4 separate regions of the Homo sapiens genome follow, and regions 1, 3 and 4 are each linked to region 2. The links are contacts of gene promoters, found by promoter capture Hi-C in blood cells and fetal thymus (Javierre and others, 2016). All regions are on one chromosome and are shown on one strand. The core of a region is centred on a gene start or on the middle of the fragment in contact, and the rest is flanking DNA. Distances in the headings are between cores, read along the strand shown.

Region 1 (4,368 bases), core at 236-2,735, 320 kb after region 2:
TCTGTCACCAGGCTGGAGTGCAGTAGCATGATCTCAGCTCACTGCAACCTCCACCTCCCGGGTTCAAGCAATTCTCCTGCCTCAGCCTCCCGAGTAGCTGGGACAACAGGCGCCCGCTACCATGTCCAGCTAATTTTTGTATTTTTAGTGGAGCCAGGGTTTCACCATGTTAGCCAGGATGGTCTCGATCTCCTGACCTCGTGATCCACCCGTCGGCCTCCCAAAATGCTGGGATTACCGACGTGAGCAACCACGCCTGGCCAAAAACCCCTTTTAAACACAAAATTTAGTGTGTACAGAGAAGATATAACTACTCTAAATGGAATGGAAAATGGTGATACAAATGTATCAGCATTCCATTTAGAAAAGCAGTTATACCTTCCTATACTCACCTCCTCCATTTTAAACAAATACAGCTTTACCATTAAATCAAAATGTATTTTCCAAGTGCTGGTTTCTCAACATCCATGCCTTCTGGTACAATAATATTCCTCCAAAGTACATAATAAAATAGAACACTTGCTGGAGAAAATGCTAGGGCTGTCTTGCTTTGCTACTCACTCTAAGACAATATGGAAGCCATCTCCACTGCTTAAGTAGATAGTGAAATTAAATGCAAATAATTAGTATAAAAAGATACCCAATTATACATAATCAACAAAAATTTATGGTAATTTCAAAGCAGTTACTGCTTTTGCAAGGAGCTGTATTTTGTCATCTGATCTTTATGCAAAATTTAGCAGAAGGACTTCCCCCAACAGAGAAAGTTCAAGTGGAAGGCAGGCTCCAGGGCTCGCTGATTTTGCCACTAGAATCTTGTATCCTGTGTTGCCCACAACTGAGAAGTAGCTACAAGCCGTTAAGTTAGAATATGGCCATTTAAAGTAAAGTAACTGTTGGCTGCCCCCCAAAAGCACCAAGCTTTTTTTAATTGATGCATCTGCCATCCTACTTGATAAACCTAGATCAGAAAGCCAAACCTGCTGTTATTATGTCCTTTGATAATTAGAAACCAGATTGGTCATTTGTTTTTTTAGCCTGAAGGCAATTCAAGGCTCAGAAGAGAAACAAGTTTCTTTTTATTCTCTTAAAGAAAAACACACACACCACAACCACCAATATGGTATATCTCTGTATATTACAGTTCACAATTTGAAAAGTCTTTGAAAAACATACCCCTACCCTATAAAAGGAAGGGGAGAAAGAGGAGGCCTGCTCAAGTTTTACTGCCCTCACTGATCCCTTAGAGGAATGACAGAACTGCAAAACATTAAAATTAGCAAGATGTGGAAGGGTTTGGTTTGTTTGTTTTTTTAAAGCTTTCAAATGCAAGCTATTACTGCATATCCCTGATATGAGATTAGGCATGATTGTCAGGCAGGCTGTGACACCCAGATGGTGATTTAACTGGCCCGTTCTTCGACAGCCTTTTGCCTCACTGACAGAACGGTCACACGACTATTACATGCTTCTGGGTGTGTGCGCGTCTCCTCTCAGATCGTCAAAATCCTGCTCTCCTACCCCCACCTTTAGGAATATGGCAGCTAGCTTTACTTACCGAGAACCCGCTACTGTGCTTCCCAACAGTGTATCTTACCTCATGCAGTCCTGTGAGACAGGGGCTTCTCCCACAATTTACAGGCTTGCAAACTGAAGCTTGGAGGTTTGATTAAGTAACTTTCCCAGTATAAAAACTGCTATCTGAGGGGACTGGGATTCAAATCCAAGTTTGTCTCAAAAATCAAAGCTGTTGCCCTTACCAGCCCACTTCAGTAAACCCTAAAAGCAGATAAAGAGCACAAACTCCCAGGGGGTTGGGCCTATACAAACCTCAAGTCTCTCATTTTAACTCTGAACAGTCCTGTAAAATGTCTACTCCATAGTATTTAATATAAAAATGTTTAAAATTGCTGACCAACACGCTAACTTACCCTTCCTTGGGCAAAATCATGGGTAAAAACTGATGGGCCAAGAAAAGACACCCCACTAACCTGTGACTCTGCCCATTCACCAGCCTACTGTTTCGCACTCTGGAGTTGCATCAGGTCCCTCAGCAGGCTCAGAGAGCTGAGATGCCTCCTGTAATGTTGGAATCTAGTTGTCAGTGGTCCCTGGCTAAAAGAGTAACAGGAAGGCAACTGAGCCTAAGCTTTAATCCCTAACTTCCTGTGACTGTGTGACTAGGGTAAGTCACTTGTTGCCTCAGGTTTCTCCAGCAGATGGGGCATAGGGGTAAATCATACTCCTCATGGAGCTCTCATTAGGATGCACTAAGAACACAGGCAGTAAAATGTTAGATGAGACAGGACAAAAACACTTACAAAAACTGAGGTGTGGATAGAAAATTTCTTCCTCCCAAGTCCATTGGGTATCTGAACATTAGGAAAAAATAAAGATGTCCAACCAGATTTCCAATAAGCTCATTGATTACCCTGCAAAGAGAGCCAAATGAGTTTAAAGACATTCAAGCAATAGAGATGCACCAAGTTTTAACTAATAGCATAAGGAAGAGAGCCTTCAAGGCAGCCCATTTAGTCCCTGGGAGTCTGTGAGAGCTGACAATGAGCACTTTTGTAGTCTGAGTGGCAAATGCATTCTGAGGGAGACGGGAAATCAGTCCTGCTGAACCAATGAGGCCTGCCACTCTTCAAGGCCAGCAGCCCCTCTGACCTCTCTTTCAAGCACCAGCCCATCCTCAAAATATTGTTTTTGCTACTTCCTGCCTCAAGAGTTGGGGAAGTTGCAAAGCATGCTTCTGAATGCTTTCAGTCATGAATATTGTATTTATAAAATGTGGGCAAACATGAAGGCTACCAAGAGAGAAGCGTGGGAGTAAGGAAAAGAGGAACAATAAATGCCTGTTCCCCCTTTCCTGGAGCCATTAAGCACTTCTCCCTTGCCTCTTGTATCCTTGAGTGTAAGACACCACAGAGATCACTTAGGAAAGCCGACTTGCACCCTGAAATCAACGCTGACCTTCTTCAGTTTTCCCTTGGCTTACATACAGGTCACCTCAAGAGTGTATAGATCTACTGTTACTATTACAAATCCTCTTTGTCTTCACCTGCAACATGATTCCCGTCAGGGGCAAATCAACACCTGCAACTACTTCAGACTTCACCTTCCTGGGTGGAAGAGCAGCTTTGCCAAGTTCAGAACATGCTTTGCTCTAAACAGTCTGCTCCATCCATTCACTTCTCCCCAGCAATATGCAGAAGAAGTTAGGATCACACAGAGCAAATATGTCAGACACATGAAGAACCAGCAATATAAAAATGGATTGAAATATTAAAAGTAGTTTGTAGTATAAGAAATGGGAGTTCTGGCTGGGTGCAGTGGCTCATGCCTGCAATCCCAGCACTTTGGGAGGCCAAGGTGAGCGGATCATTTGAGGTCAGAAGTTTGAGACCAGCCTGGGCAACACAGCGAAACCTCATCTCTACAAAAAATACAAAAATTAGCTGGGTGTGGTGGTGCACACCTGTAATCCCATCTACTCGGGAAGCTGAGGCATGAGAATTGCTTGAACCTGGGAAGCAGAGGTTGCAGTGAGCCAAGATCACGCCACTGCACTCCAACCTCGGTGACAGAGCCAGACCCCATCTTGAAAAAATAAATAAGTAAATAAATAAACAGAAAAAATGAAGAAATGGGAGTTCTTAGAGAAGTTGCATCTTGGTATCCTCCCTTTAAAATTCTGACTGGATAAATTAAAGCTATTCCTATGTCTAGCTCTAATTCCTGACCAATAGACTAGATATTTGACCCTGGTTGGCCAAAAGTTCTGTATTATCATCCAGGCATGGTGGCTCATGCCTGAAATCCCAGCACTTTAGGAGGCCAAGGCAGGCAGATCATTTGAGGTCAGGAGTTTGAGACCAGCCTGGCAAACATGGCAAAACCCCATCTCTACTAAAAATCCCAAAAAAAAAAAAAAAAAAAAATAGCCGGGCATGGAGGCGGGCGCCTGTAATCCCAGCTACTCGGGAGGCTGAGGTAGGAGAATTGCTTGAACCCATGAGGCAGAGGTTACAATGAGCCAAGATCGCACCATTGCACTCCAGCCTGGGCAACAAAAGTGAAACTTCGTCTCAAAAAAAAAAAAAAAAAAGTTCTGTATCATCAAACCACTTGCAAAATTATATCCTATCTAAGAATCTGGATTTCTATGACCGATAGGCAGTTTCCAAGGCATTCTGGAAATGCCTTAAGAATATAAGACATAGTAATTTTATACATAGCTCTTAGAGGAGCCAACTCAGACAAAAATTAGGTCTCTGTTTGCCCAATCAGAATAGTGAATCCAGAAATACATATTTATTCCTGTACTATACACATAGGAACATACTGTGTGTAACAATAAGTTAA
Region 2 (4,698 bases), core at 1,385-3,884:
TTGACTTTGTTCTCAGCCAGGCTCTCTGCTAATGGAGAACATGGTCCCTGGCAGCCCCAGACTACTGTGATCCTAAAAGTCAACTGTTGCCAAGAAAGAAGAATGTCTTTCCTGATAATTCTGACAAAAGTCCCAGGTTAAATGAGATGGCATGTGGAAGAATAAATAAATTAATAAATAAATAAATAAACAAAAGTCTCATGGAAGACTCTGATTGGCCTGGCTAGGTCATGTGACCATTCATAAGCTAAAACACAATGCTCATATAAGGAGAATGTATGGAACAGGACAAACAATCACCAGAGGATGGAACTCCAAGGATGTGAAAGGCTGAACAAAGGAAGAGAAATCTACGAAGAAAGGGTGGTCAGAGAATTAGGAATAGAATCAGAATCAAATGATATCCCAGACACAAGGAAAGAAATATTTAACACAAGTGGGCAACTCTTTCAAATTCAACTAAAGTATATTTCTTAAGTTTTTTATAAAAAACTGTGATGTATTGGATTGGTAAAATGTTAGAATTACTTTTGGTGGAGTTGTGGGCACTTGGGGCAGGTTGAGGAGTTGGCAATGGATTGAGGCATGCATAGAAAAAGTAGAAACAAAATTATAGATGACCTAAGAAATTTGGTTGAAAGAAACAGAAATAGAGAGGTTATAGAGAAAGAAACAGGATCAAGGTAAGATATTTTTGGTTGTAAAGTGTTTGAATTAGCAGGTGGGAAGGAAGCCTGAAAATAAAGAAAAGGGAGTTACTTTTTAATTTTTTTATTATTTATTTAATTTTTTAGAGACAGGGTCTTGCTCTGTCACCCAGGCTGGAGTGCAGTGATGCAATCAAAGCTCACTACAGCCCCAACTTCCCAGGCTCAAGCAATCCTCTACCTCAGCCTCTAAAGTAGCTGGGACCACAGGTGTGCACTACCACACCCAGCTAATTTTTTTTTTTAAGAGATGAGGTCTCACTATGTTGCCCAAGCTGGTCTCAAATTCCTGGGCTCAAGTGATCCTCCTGCCTCAGCCTCCCAAAGTGCTGGGACTACGTGAGCCACCACACTTGGTCAACTATTTAAAAAGAAAGATTGAATTACAAATAAATATAACTACTAGAAGCATCAAGTCAAGATACATGGCAGTTGAAAATTTCTGAGGATTGTCTAAATTCCCGTTTATGATGTCTTTCACCTTTATGGTGATGGAAGAAATAGGAAGCCCTGCTAGCATCTGCTACAGCTGTTCATTCATTCATTCATTGATTCACTCAACAAATGATTATGAAGCCACCACCTGGCCAGGCACCAGTCCAGGTGTTAGTGATCCAGCAGTGAACAAAATTGACAAAAACCTGCTTCCATGGGTAATAAATGCCCCCTGACACTCGATTCCTGGCTCTCCCACCTTCCTACAGACCTGATCCATGCACTTGGCTTCCAGCTCTTTCTGGGCCCTACAGGCAGATGTACCCAGGATACCAGGTGCCATCTCTGGCAGCTGAAAGTTTGGTTCTCTGGATTGTTCCAAACTTCATTGCTTTTGCAAGCTGCTTACTCACCACCCGACAAAGGGTGAATAGTGAATACAGTCACATCTTTCTACGCTCACCATCTTTCTTCCCTTTTAGAACCTAGAGGAGGATAGAAAATAACAAAATTTTCCCCACCTGAAGCTGCCAGTAGAATTCCCAAAATAAGATTAACTTCTCTAGATGACTCACCTAAAAATCTCGCCACACTTCTCTTGTGCTGCTGAGAAAACAACCAAAAGTAGCTATTATGCTGGAATGTAGGTGAAGATCAAAAGTGGACATCAAACTTGCCAGAAGCAGAGAGCAGGAAGACTTGAAAATAGAGATTCTGGACTCAGACTACCCAGGTTCCAATCCTGGTGTCCTCACTTACCAGCTTTCAACACCGAAAAGGAGACGCAGATGGAAATCCACCCTGCCCAAGAAGCAGCTTCCCACTGGAAAATGGTAATAAGAGTAATAATAGCAGGTGCATCAAATAGCTGTGAAAATGAGATGCAGTCATTCATTAAAGTGCTCAGCAAGGGGACCACGTGGGCGGAGGGCTGAGGTGAGGGTGCATTGCCATGTGGAAGTTGGGTACTACAGCCAGAATGCAAAAGGATAAATCCAGTGTTCACTAAATAATACTGATAAATTTTCTTACCTAATACACTCTCCTTCTGACCCACTCAGCCTGAACATAGAGAGGCAGGAAGGTAAGATTTCCCTGTCCACTTCAGAAACTGAGGTTAGTACAATTAGTTCTTCATTCTTCATGTCTGAGGCCCATTGGCTTCAAGAAAATCTATCTTTCTCTTAAAAACAACTCACTGTAACCATTAGGTCAAAATTACAGCTAAAGATCGAGTTTCTGCAAAATGTCAAATAAAATGTCTTACCATTTGTGACAAACAGCTGTTGCCTTCTTCTCCACGATGGAATCAAAGGATCTTATCACCTTAAAGGAAAACGACTAAAGCAGAATTATTTTCCTTTTAATCTTTTTTCCCCTCCATGGAAATTTACATAAGAAGGAGCTGTAATCCATTCCTTTCTGTGTGTCAGAAAATCTCCACTCTTGTGGTCTCCATGGCAGCAACTCCCAACCTGAGACAGAGGCTGTTTCACCCCACAGAGTGCATTGGACTTTTATCTGGTGAGTGCAATCAATGTAGACAAGCACATTGGATGACTCAAACTTGGGATTATTTCTGATTTTGAATTCCGTGTGTGTTTTGGCTCTCTGTGTTGGTCAACAGTGCCAGATGAATTCAAGTCTGCCTGTTACTTTATGTTGTGGTGAAATGGCCTGATAAGCCCCCTGGCGTTTTGAATGCTGGCTCTCGCTCTACACCGATGATGAAGCATTTTCCAGGTTTCTAAGGGGGTGATGCAACTGACTCACTTTCCGGGTCAGTGGGGACTTGCCCTCAAGCTGTTCTGGCAGCGGTGGGCCACTCTTTCTCAGCTTATCTTTTTGTGATGTCCTGAAACACACTCACCTGTGGCCACTGAATAGCGTTAAGCCCATGGTGGGTGAGCTATTGTGAAGCTGAATTAGCACACCCAAATGGGATTTAAACCCATGATCTGCCCTCGTGAGTGGGAACCGGTGGAGTGACCGTGTCCGACGCTCTCAAGGCTAGGTCAGGCTTTTCTGAAATGGCCATTTAAAGCCTCCATTTGTTTCATGCTGTGAAAGACTCTGTTTAGAGGGTGAAAAGACAACCTGCAGACTGGGAGAAAATATTTGCAAGCCAATATCTGACAAACATTTTGCATCTTCTAGAATATATAAAGAACTTTCAAAACTCAACAGTAAAAAAAAATTAAACATGGCTGAAAGACATGAACTGATATTTCACCAAAAAGGATAGGCAGATGGCAAATAAGCAAGAAAAGTTGTTCAATATCATTAGTCATTAGGAAACTGCAAATTAAAACCACAAAAATATATGCCTACACACCACTTAGAATAGCTAAAATTTTAAATAGTGATAATATCAAATGCTGGTAAGGATGCAGAGAAACTAGATCTCTTATACATTGCCTGTGGACATGTAAAATGGTACAGCCACCATGGAAAACAGTTTGGCAGTTTCTTACAAAATTAAACACTTACCATATGACCCAACGGTCATACTCCTGGCATTTATCCCAGAGAAATCAAAACTTATATTTACACAAAAACCTGCATATAAATATTCGTAGTGGCTGTATTCATAATGGCAAAATACTCGAGGGAAAAAAAAGCAAATGTCCAATAGGCAAAGGATGGAACAAACTGTGGTACCTCCATACAATGGAATACTACTTAGCAACAAAAGCAAATGAACTCTTGGTACATGCAACAACCTGGATGGACCTCAGGCATTATGCTTAGTGAAAAAAGCCAGTCTCAGAAGGTTACATACCTTTCGGATCTGTTTCCACTTATCCAACATTCTCGAAACGATGACAGAAAGAGCACAGATTAGTGGTTGCCAGGGAGCAGGAGGATGAGGGGGGAGGAATACAAACAGATAGAATGGAATTCTTTTTTTTTTTTTTTTTAAGACACAGTCTCACTCTGTCACCCATGCTGGAGTGTGGTGGCATAGTCTAGGCTCACTGCAACTTCTGCCTCCCCAGTTCAGGCAATTCTCCTACCTCAGTCTCTGGAGTAGCTGGGATTTACAGGTGTGTGCCACCACACCTGGCTAATTTTTGTATTTTTAGTAGAGACGGGGTCTCACCATGTTAGCCAAGCTGGTCTCAAACTCCTGACCTCAAATGGTCCACCCACCTCGGCCTCCCAAAGTGCTGGGATTTTAGGCATGAGCCACCGCGCCCGGCCTGAATGGAATTCTTTTACTGTGATGGAACAGTTCTGTATCTTGATTGGGATGGTGGTTACATGAATCTATACATGGGATAACATTACATACACACAAATGCAAGCTTAAAAAATGCTGAGAACAGAATAAAATCTGCAGTATAGTTCAACACTACCAGTGCCAACTCCCTGGTTTTGCTATTTTACCACAGCTTTATAAGATGTCACTGCTCGGGGAGGCTGAGGGGAGGGTATATGTGACCCTGTACTTATGGCCTCTTTCTGTGAGTCTATAACTATTTAAAAATAAAAAGTTACAGCCGGACGCAGTGGCTCACGCCTGTAATCCCAGCACTTTGGGAGGCCAAGATGG
Region 3 (4,890 bases), core at 2,296-4,795, 450 kb after region 2:
AGATTTATTCTTTTAGTAGGGTCTATTATTATGATTTTTTTTTTTTTTTGAGATAGGGTCTTGTTCTGTCACCCAAGCTGGAGTGTAGTGATGCAATCATGGCTCAGTGCAGCCTCGACCTCCTGAGCTCAAGCAGTTCTCCCATCTCAGCCTCCCAAGTAGCTGGGACCATAGGCGTGTATCCCCACACCTAGCTAATTTGTTAAATTATTTGTAGAGATGAGATCTCACTATGTTGCCCAAGCTGGTCTCAAACTGCTGGGTTCAAACCATCCTCCCGCCTTGCCTCTCAAAGTGCTGGGATTATAGGCGTGAGCCACTGTGCCTGGCCAGTGAATAAATTATTGGGATGTATTTTGGCACTTCTATTCAATCTACTGCTCAAGTAAAAGGTAATCACTGGTTACCATATTTTTGGTGGGAAAGGGTGGGCTGAGGTGGGACTATTACAGAAACAGAGTCCCAGTCGAGGAAAAAGTTTGTGCAGACTGTCCTGTGGAGTTCTGTTTGATTCTGTTGCTCCAAGGTAAAATATGTACTTTGCCAAAAGCTGGTCCTCAGAACAACAGTATATTCAAGTATCACATGGAAACTTCTCATAGGATTTGATCCAACATTAGGTTTCGATACAAGGCTTACAGTGGCATCAACTGAAAAATCAAAATTATAATTTAAAACTGTAAAATACCCTGGAGGCTGAGGCGAGAGGATCTCTTTGAGCCCAGGAGTTTGAGGCTGCAGTGAGCTATTATCACACCACTGAACTCTAGCCTGGGCAACAGAGAAGACCCTGTCTCTTTAAAAAAAAAAAAAAAGATTTCCAAAAATTATAGAGTACAGTTAACAAGGAGCTTTTATTTTACTGTGTTTTATTTTGTTTCAGTCTTTTATAATGTGTATACATTGCTTTTTAAAATAATAGCTTTGTTGATACATAATTCACATGCCCTATAATTCACCTTTTTTCTTTCTCTTTTTCTTTTTTTTTTTTTTTTGAGACAGAGTTTCGCTCTTGTCTCCCAGGCTGGAGTGCAGTGGTGCGATCTCAGCTCACTGCAACCTCCACCACCCAGGTTCAAGTGATTCTCCTGCCTTAGCCTCCTGAGTAGCTGGGATTACAGGCCTACACCACCATGCCTGGCTAATTGTTTTATTTTAGTAGAGATGGGTTTTCGCCATGTTGGCCATGCTGGTCTCGAACTCCTCACCTCAGGTGATCCACCCGCCTCGGCCTCCCAAAGTGCTGGGATTACAGGCGTGCCCAGCACCGCACGCAGCCTAATTCACCTATTTAAAGTGTATTATTCAATGTCATTATATTATCATGTACTAAAAAATACACTTACATAGTCATGCAGCCATCACCACAAGCAAGTTTAGAGCATTTTTCAGCACTTCAAAATAAACCCAGTACCCATTAGCAGTCACTCCCCATTTCCACTCACTCCCCCAAGCCCCTGGCAGCTACTAACTACCTTGTGTCCACTCACCTATTCAGGAAGTTTCATGTAAATATAATCATGTAATATATGGTCTTCTGTGTCTGGTTTCTTGTACTTGGCATAATGTCTTGAGATTCAACCATGTTGTAGCATGTACCAGTACTTCATTCCTTTTTATTGCTGAATAATATTCCATTGTGTGGATATTATGTATTTTTTTAATCTATTCATCAGTCGATGGACATCTGGATTCTTTCCAATTTTTGGCTTCATGAATATGCTATGTGCATTACTTTTACATTTCACAAATTTGAAGAGTGAAAATATAGGTTAGGTCATTTAATTATGCCTACCTTTTTTTTTTTTTAAAGACAGAACTTCACTCTGTTGCCCAGGTTGGAGTGCAGTGGCACGATCTTGGCTTACTGCAACCTCTGCCTCCTGCATTCAAGAAATTCTCCTGCCTCAGCTTCCTGAGTCGCTGGGACTACAGGCGCATGCCACCATGCCCAGCTAATCTTTAGTAGAGATGGGGTTTCGCCATGTTGCCCAGGCTTGTCTCGAACTCCTGGCCTCGAGTGATCTGGCCACTTTGACCTCCCAAAGTGCTGGGATTATACCTCACCCGGCCAAATCATGCCGACTCTTAAAACCACTCATTACCGCTCATACTTGAGATTTAGTGGTCCCAAATAGCACCAAGAGTACTTCAGGGAGGTGGAGAGGAGTAGAATGTGACTCTGCACGAATTAAATATTTAAAACTGGCTTACAAAAGATACTAATCATGGGAGCTGTCACTTCTCCCTCACCCTCTCACACTTACCCTTGTTTTTTTTTTTGGTTGTTTGCTTTTTTGAGACGGAGTCTCGCTTTGTCGCCAGGCTGGAGTGCAGTGGCACAATCTCGGCTCACTGCAACCTCCACCTCCTGGGTTCAAGCAATTCTCCTGCCTCAGCCTCCCAAGTAGCTGGGACAACAGGCGCCCACCACCACGCCCAGCTAATTTTTGTATTTTTAGTAGAGACGGGGTTTCACCATGTTGGGCAGGGTGGTCTCAATCTCTTGACCCTTGTGATCCTCCTGCGTGGCCCTCCCAAAGTGCTGGGATTACAGGCGTGATCCACCGCACCCAGCCTTACCCTTGTTTTAGAAAGAAAAATAGAAAATCTTTAGAGAGCTATCTACGTAGAAATAGAGAAAGGTAAGAAACTGTGAAAAGCTTTCGTCATCGGTAGTTTTCCTACACCTTTGCCCCTCTGCCTCCATGATGTCTTCCCTTCGTGCTAAATTTTTTTTGGCAGACCAGTCAGCCATGTATGTTTTTTAACCTTGCTGAATTTCACCAATAGAGATAATTTGATTAATAAACATCCAGTTTTCAAAAGTCTTAAGTTTATGACTGAATGATGTGTCAGTCATGTTCTTAATCAGGGTATATAGATTTAATCAGATTCATTTAATCCTAAAAGCAGGAGATAATCACCTACCATTAAGAAAATGACATTTTTGAGCCCGGCGCGGTGGCTCACTCCTGTAATCCCAGCACTTTGGGAGGCCAAGGTGGGCAGATCACAAGGTCAGGAGTTTGAGACCAGCCTGGCCAATATGGTGAAACCCCCGTCTCTACTAAAAATACAAAAATTAGCCAGGCGTGGTGGTACACACCTGTAATCGCAGCTACTCAGGAGGCTGAGGCAGGAGAATCGCTTGAACCCAGGAGGCAGAGGTTGCAGTAAGCCAAGATCGCACCACTGCACTCCAGCCTGGGCGACAGAGCGAGACTCCATCTCAAAAAAAAAAAAAAATACAAACCTATATGTGTTCAAAAAATACACATGTTCAAGACCTCACCAATAGTGATTTAATTCAGTAGATCTAATAATAGTAATAATTCCGTCAGTAGCTCTAGGGTAGAAACTAGGGAGCTAGATTTTTGTTTTAAAGTTTCACGAGTGAATATCCCCAGCCAGTGTTTGAAACATTGCTGGAGACAAAAGGTAATCATTAGTTGTTTGAACAGAGATAATATTTACAACACAGCCCTTTGGGAAGATGAATTGAACAGGAGTGGGCAGGTTGAATTTTGGAGGACAGATGAGAGGGAGCTGTGAGATCTCAGCTCTGGCTGGGCACGGTGGCGCCTGTAATCCTAGCAATTTGGGAGACTGAGGCGGGAGGATGGCTTGAGCCCAGGAGTTCAAGACCAGCCTGGGCAACATAGTGAGACTGCCTCTAAAAAATAAAGAAACAAAAAGATCTGAGGAACCACACCTGATTCGCGTCTTGTCTGTGCAGCAAATGTAGCAGTGGCCAGCGTGCTTGTGCCAGAATGCTGGTAGACTGGGAAGCTCGTGACCTTATTCCATTTGCTACAAGTATTTTATTTTGGAGTTATTTCTGGCCAGGCGCAGTGGTTTACGCCTCTAATCCCAGCACTTTGGGAGGCCAAATCATGCCTACTTTTAAAACCCCTCATACACCTGAGGTCAGGAGTTCGACCTGGCCGACATGGCCAACATGACCAACCTGGCCAACATGGTGAAACCTCGTCTCTACTAAAAATAGCCGGGCATGGTGGCGTGAACCTGTAATCCCAGCTACTCCAGAGACTGAGGCAGGAGAATCGCTTGAACCCAGGAGGTGGAGGTTGCAGTAAGCCGAGATCACGCCACTGCACTCCAGCCTGGGGTGACAGAGCAAGATTCCGTCTAAAAAAAAAAAAGTGTTATTTCTTAGTAAAATAGTTCAATCTGCTTTTTCTTTTCTGTTTTTCTTTTTCCGCTGAGTTCTGTCCGCAGAAACCGTTCTCTGGAACAGTGCAGATTGCAGATTACGTTTACTACCTCCGCCATGTCCCGCCCTTCAGATGTTTGAAGATGACTCTTAGATTCCAGTCCCCCACCAGTTCAAATTAGTCATTGGTGATTAGTCACATTACTTTAATGACTCATTGAGCTAAAACTATGAGGTAAAACCATTAGCTAAAGCTTTTCAGAGAGGTAAAAGGCAGACATCTTACCGATTTAATGAGACTCCCAGCATTCTGGGCTCGACACATGGAGCTTAGATGCTAGCGGTGGGAGTAGAAAGGAAGGGACCATTATAAGCCATGTCAGGATGCAAATGTTTTTAAAAACACCTTGGTGTCATACTGGATGTGCTGCTGTAGGAGTTAGGGAACAGTGAAAACACAGCTGAGGGTGAGTGTAAGTTTTGAGATGAGGAGAGTAATTGATAAAAGTAGGGGAGGCACCACTAGTTGCTAGGGCACTGCCCTGCCTGCTACTCTAAGAAGGGTTCGGGTAAAACTTGCCTATGGCTGGCTCTGATTTGCTGTATGTTGTGATGAGGCCCTGCCTAGCTAAAACCAGTAGTGATCAGCTCATAATAGTTTCCAGGGAAGCCTTGCTGATCACATTTCGTAATCTCTATCTTAATATCCATAT
Region 4 (4,656 bases), core at 92-2,591, 410 kb after region 2:
CCTGATATTTTTCACATTGATTTTAATACAGTGTCCTTCCTTATCCATGGTTTTACTTTCCATGGTTTTGTTTACATGTAATCAGCTGTGGTCCAAATATATTCAAAGGAAGATTTCAGAAAAAACAATTCATAAGTTTTAAATTGCACACCGTTCTGAGTAGCATGACGAAATCTCCTGCCATCTTGCTCTGTTCCACCTGGCACATGACCATCATTCTGTCTAGCATAGTCACTCAGTAGCCTCTTGGTTATCAGATCTACTGTCACAGTATCACAGTGCTTGTGTTCCAGTAACCTTTATTTTACTTAAAAAACTTCTGTAGAGCACAAAAGTACTGATACTGACATATTGTCAGAATTGTGCTATTTTATTATTAGTTATGATAATCTATTGTTGTGCCTAATTTATAAATTAAACTTTATTATAGGTATGTATATATAGGGAAAAACATAATATATTTAGGGTTCAGTGTTATCTGAGGTTTCAGGCATCCACTGGGGATCTTGGAACATTTCCTCGTCAAATCAGTGGGGACTATTGTAACTTCTTTTTTCTTTAAGCATTTTTTAATTGTAAAATTTGCAACACAGAAGAGTGTCTAAAACAGATTACAGCTTAATGAAAAGTAATAAAAAGATTACACATGTATCCTGTGTCAGGTAGCTGCAAGACCATCCTTAGGTTTGATGATTTATTAGGACTCAGCATGTAGCCATATTCATAGCTATAATATATTAAAGTGAAAGGATGCAAAGCAAAATCAGCAAAGGGAAAAGACACATGGGGTGAAGTCCAGAAGAAACCAGGCACAAGCTTCCGGGAATCTTCTCCCACTGGAGTCACAGGACATCCTTGATTCCTCCATCAATGAATATGTGTGGCAATATGTGTGAAATATTGTCTACCAGGGAAATTTATTAGAGACCTGGTGCCCAGGATTTTTACTAGAGGCTGGTTCTGTAGGTACCCTGTTTTAACAGGTTTCAAATTTCAGACTCCCAGAAGGAAGGCGGGCATTAAGCATAAACCACATTGTACAAACAGTTTAAGCACAATGAGCCACTCTTTATTGGTTCTAGGGGTGGTGAGAACTTTCCTGAAATTCAACTTCTAGACACCAGCCAAAGGCTGACCTTGCAAGTAAGCCTTCTGAGGGTAGCAGGCTCAGACCGGCTTGTGTTCACTTTTTTCTGCACATACCCATTTCCACATGAAGAAATAGAGCATTACCGTAGCTTTGGAGCCCCGTGTGTGCTTATCCCCCATCACATTTTTCTCCCTACCCCATATATATAACCATTGTCCTCACTTTTGTGTTAATTATGCCGTTGATTTTCTTTATAGTTTTATAACTTCTTCATGTAACTCTAAACAAAATATTACTTCTTTAAAGAAAAAACTGAATAGCAGACACAAGCCTAGCCTAGTTGTGTAAAGACTGGGCAATGTTGCTCCTATTTAATGAATGCTTTAATGCAAAGATAAGCTGAATGGTATCTCTGAGATGTTCTGGCTTCAGAGTTTGCAGGACCTTTTCTGGGAAAACTGGTGGGAATGGTCATGAGCAACTTTGGGAAGTAAAAGCCTCATCATGTCAGGGTATCTGGCAGCATTGTAGTGTGGATCCAATGTGGATATCCTACAGAAATATGTCAAGGAATGGAGCTGCTTCCAAGGAAACCATAGCCAGTTCTAAAAAGTAGGTCAAAGTAGAACACTTCTATGGCATGAAGTGCAAGTCCTCAACTAATCTTTGCATTAGCACGTGGAAAGAAAAGAAGGAACTTTATCAGCTCATGGCCAAGACAAGGACAGGTCAAATTGAGGCCAAACTCCCCAGGGCATCTTTTTCTTTGTTTAAAAAGAAGCTTCAATGGCAGCAGGTATCTTGATGATGAAGTCAGTCTTCCTGGATCATGTTGCTCTCATTTGTTCTAGTTGCCCTCTATACCTTTAATATGGCACTCAAGTATCTTCATTCACCATCATCTTAGGTTTTCCCTTCACCCTTCTCTTACATTGGACTACCTGTTTCTTCTTGTAAAAAGAGCACTAAACGAAATCAGAAAGTCTGGCTTCGAGTCTTGAGCCAAGATTTAGCAGATTTGTGACCATAAGCAATTCACCAAACTTCTCTGATTTTCCCATTTTTTCAAATAAAGGAAGACATTTCATCTGTTTCATATAGTTGTTAGATCCAGTTGAGATAATATATGCAAACAGCTTTATAATCCTAAATTCTATAAAATATTTTTTATTAAGATAAAAATTGACTTTAAAGTCTTAGATATAAGGGACTATCAGCAGGAGCTGATGTCTGTTAGGATAAAATGATGAACTCCCACATGTTTTTCTGCCAGACTTGTCCTTGATGCTTTAATGCTAGGAATTGCCTAGAATTTTAAGGAAAGAGAGAGGTGGGGGAGGAGCGGTCAGAGTGGATTGCTCTTGATGCAGGAGTCCCAGATGACAGCCGATGGGCCTAATTCGGCTATTCAAGCTAAGAATGGTTTGTGCATTTTTAAGTAGTTATATATAAATATATAATTTTGATTTTTCTTCTTGGCCCACAAAACCTAAAATATTTACTAACTGGCCTGTATTAGTCTGTTTTCACACTGCCATAAAGAATACTACCTGAGACTGAGCAATTTATAAAGAAAGGAGGATTAATTGACTCACAGTTCCACATGGCTGTGGAGGCCTCTGGAAACTTACAATCATGGCAGAAGGTGAAGGGGAAGCGGGCACCTTCTTCACAAGGCAGCAGAAGGAGAGAGAGGAATATGTGGAGGAGAGACTGTCAAACACTTAACAAAACCATCAGATCTCGTGAGAACTATCATGAGAACAGCATGGGGGAACTACCCCCGTGATCCAGTCACCTCCCACCAGGTCCATCCTTCAACACGTGGGGATTGTGGGGATTGTAATTCAAGATGAGATTTGGGTGGGGACACAGAGCCAAAGCATATCATGGCCCTTTACAGAAAAAGTTTGTCAAGCTTGTTTAGGGAAGGTACTATATCATGAACTTTATTGGCTATGTATATGCATGCTCAAGAGAGGGAGAGAGGGGAGTGGGGAAAAGACCTATGATACACAAATATGTCTTACTATGTGTTGTTTTCTAAAGTTGGGAAGTCACTGTGGACTAGATTACCTTTGTCACCTTTTCAGTTTTAATGATTGTGTCATTTATTAATATTGTCTTTTTCTTTGTAGAATGAATTACCAGATGGATTAAACAAAAAGCGTTTACAAATCTTATTAAAAGGCTATGGTGAATATCCAACAAAATACAGGTACAATTTAAATTCTGTATGTTACATCAGTTTTACTCAAAAAAAATTGGGGGGATTAAAATATATTTTTATTTCAGAATGTTCATTTGGCGCTCTCTGCTACAACTGCCTGAAAATCATACTGCGTTTAGTACCCTCATAGATAAGGGGACTCATGTGGCATTTCTCAACCTTCAGAAGAAATACCCCATCAAAAGTAGGAAGCTACTCAGAGTATTACAGAGGTATGTTCTATATATTGCAGCAATGTGTATGAGACCTGTAACTAATAATTGCAATGTTATAAAATCTCCTGTTTATAAAATATTGTTTTGTCAGTTTGATTATCCTTATGTGATATGTTGGTTTAATTTTAAAAATGTACATGCACATATATTACATGTGAATATTAGTTTGTGTTGTGTTCTAGAAAATAGGACTCTTTCAGTTAATCTGAAAGAACATCCCAGCACTTTGGGAGGCCAAGGCGGGCAGATCAGCTGAGGTCAGGAATTGGCGACCAGCCTGGCCATCATGGTGAAACCTATCTCTACTAAAAATACAAAAATTAGCTGGGTGTGGTGGCGGGCATCTATAATCCCAGCTACTCAGGAGGCTGAGGCAGGGAGAATCGGTTGAACCCTGGAGGCAGAGGTTGCAGTGAGCTGAGATCACGCCATTTTACTCCAGCCTGGGCGACAGGGCAAGACTCCATCTCAGAAAAAAAGAACAGAGGCATAGTGGAAAGAGCTTTGAATTTGAAGGCAAAAGACCTAGTTTTGAATTCTTATTCTACCACTTAATGATTGTGATGTAAGACGTGTTATTTTACTTCTTAGCCTTAATTTTTTTTATCTAAAAGTGGGGGTAATAACACCAACATCATAAGACTATTGGGAAAGTTAGATGAGAATCTCTTTTAGAATGCATATGCTAGAGTCCATTCCTAGGAAGCATCCAGTAAATGTTAATAATAACAGTAGCTCATCCTTTAACCTGCTTTTCATGTGTTAGGCACATTTGACTTATAGGTAAAGAAACTAAGGCATAGAGAGACTAGGAAATATGATCAAGTCACAGCAGTGATAGAGCTAAGATTAAGCCCAGGTTCCAGAGCCGAAGACTTTTTTTAAAAATAATTTTTATTATGAAAAATTTCAAGCATAAATAAAAAATAATGTAACAAATATCCCCATGCCCATCACCCAGCTTCAACAATTGCCAACTCATAGCCAATCACGTTGGGTGAATATTCCCACTCACTCTACACCCCACATCCCAACATACACACACTCCCCTTGCTAAATATATACATATGTATCCCTAAAGGATAAGGACTCTTTTTCTTTAACATAAGTACACTATCATA

Evidence for each region. The method cuts DNA at HindIII sites, captures the fragments that hold promoters and counts their contacts. A CHiCAGO score of 5 or more calls a contact.
Region 1: a fragment that was not itself captured here is called in contact with the fragment with the promoter of LINC01151 in region 2 in 1 of 17 cell types (M1 macrophages); the score reaches 5.7 in M1 macrophages.
Region 3: a contact is called between a fragment that was not itself captured here and the fragment with the promoter of LINC01151 in region 2, in 1 of 17 cell types (M2 macrophages). The highest score is 5.2, in M2 macrophages.
Region 4: a contact is called between a fragment that was not itself captured here and the fragment with the promoter of LINC01151 in region 2, in 1 of 17 cell types (naive B cells). The highest score is 6.0, in naive B cells.

What each region holds. Positions count from the first base shown.
Region 1 is chr8:123,016,874-123,021,241 of GRCh38, forward strand. DERL1 (derlin 1) reads right to left here. Exons shown (of 8, transcript NM_024295.6): 7 at 2,322-2,432. All of the region lies in intron 1 of LOC124902013 (a long non-coding RNA gene), which reads left to right. Among named protein-coding and RNA genes, the nearest start is that of DERL1, 23 kb to the right of the region's middle. The HindIII fragment of the contact is 337 bases long and covers 1,318-1,654 here.
Region 2 is chr8:122,691,472-122,696,169 of GRCh38, forward strand. It overlaps LINC01151 (long intergenic non-protein coding RNA 1151), which reads right to left and starts at 2,635. Exons shown (of 4, transcript NR_126348.1): 1 at 2,410-2,635; 2 at 1,902-2,010. RefSeq lists enhancers at 1,931-3,130, 2,951-3,451. The HindIII fragment of the contact is 4,977 bases long and covers 1-4,448 here.
Region 3 is chr8:123,144,893-123,149,782 of GRCh38, forward strand. The region is part of intron 20 of TBC1D31 (TBC1 domain family member 31); the gene reads left to right. Among named protein-coding and RNA genes, the nearest start is that of TRM-CAT1-1, 10 kb to the right of the region's middle. RefSeq lists an enhancer at 3,733-4,890. The HindIII fragment of the contact is 1,768 bases long and covers 2,662-4,429 here.
Region 4 is chr8:123,106,089-123,110,744 of GRCh38, forward strand. It overlaps TBC1D31 (TBC1 domain family member 31), which reads left to right. Exons shown (of 22, transcript NM_145647.4): 9 at 3,229-3,308; 10 at 3,386-3,532. Among named protein-coding and RNA genes, the nearest start is that of TBC1D31, 36 kb to the left of the region's middle. The HindIII fragment of the contact is 1,055 bases long and covers 815-1,869 here.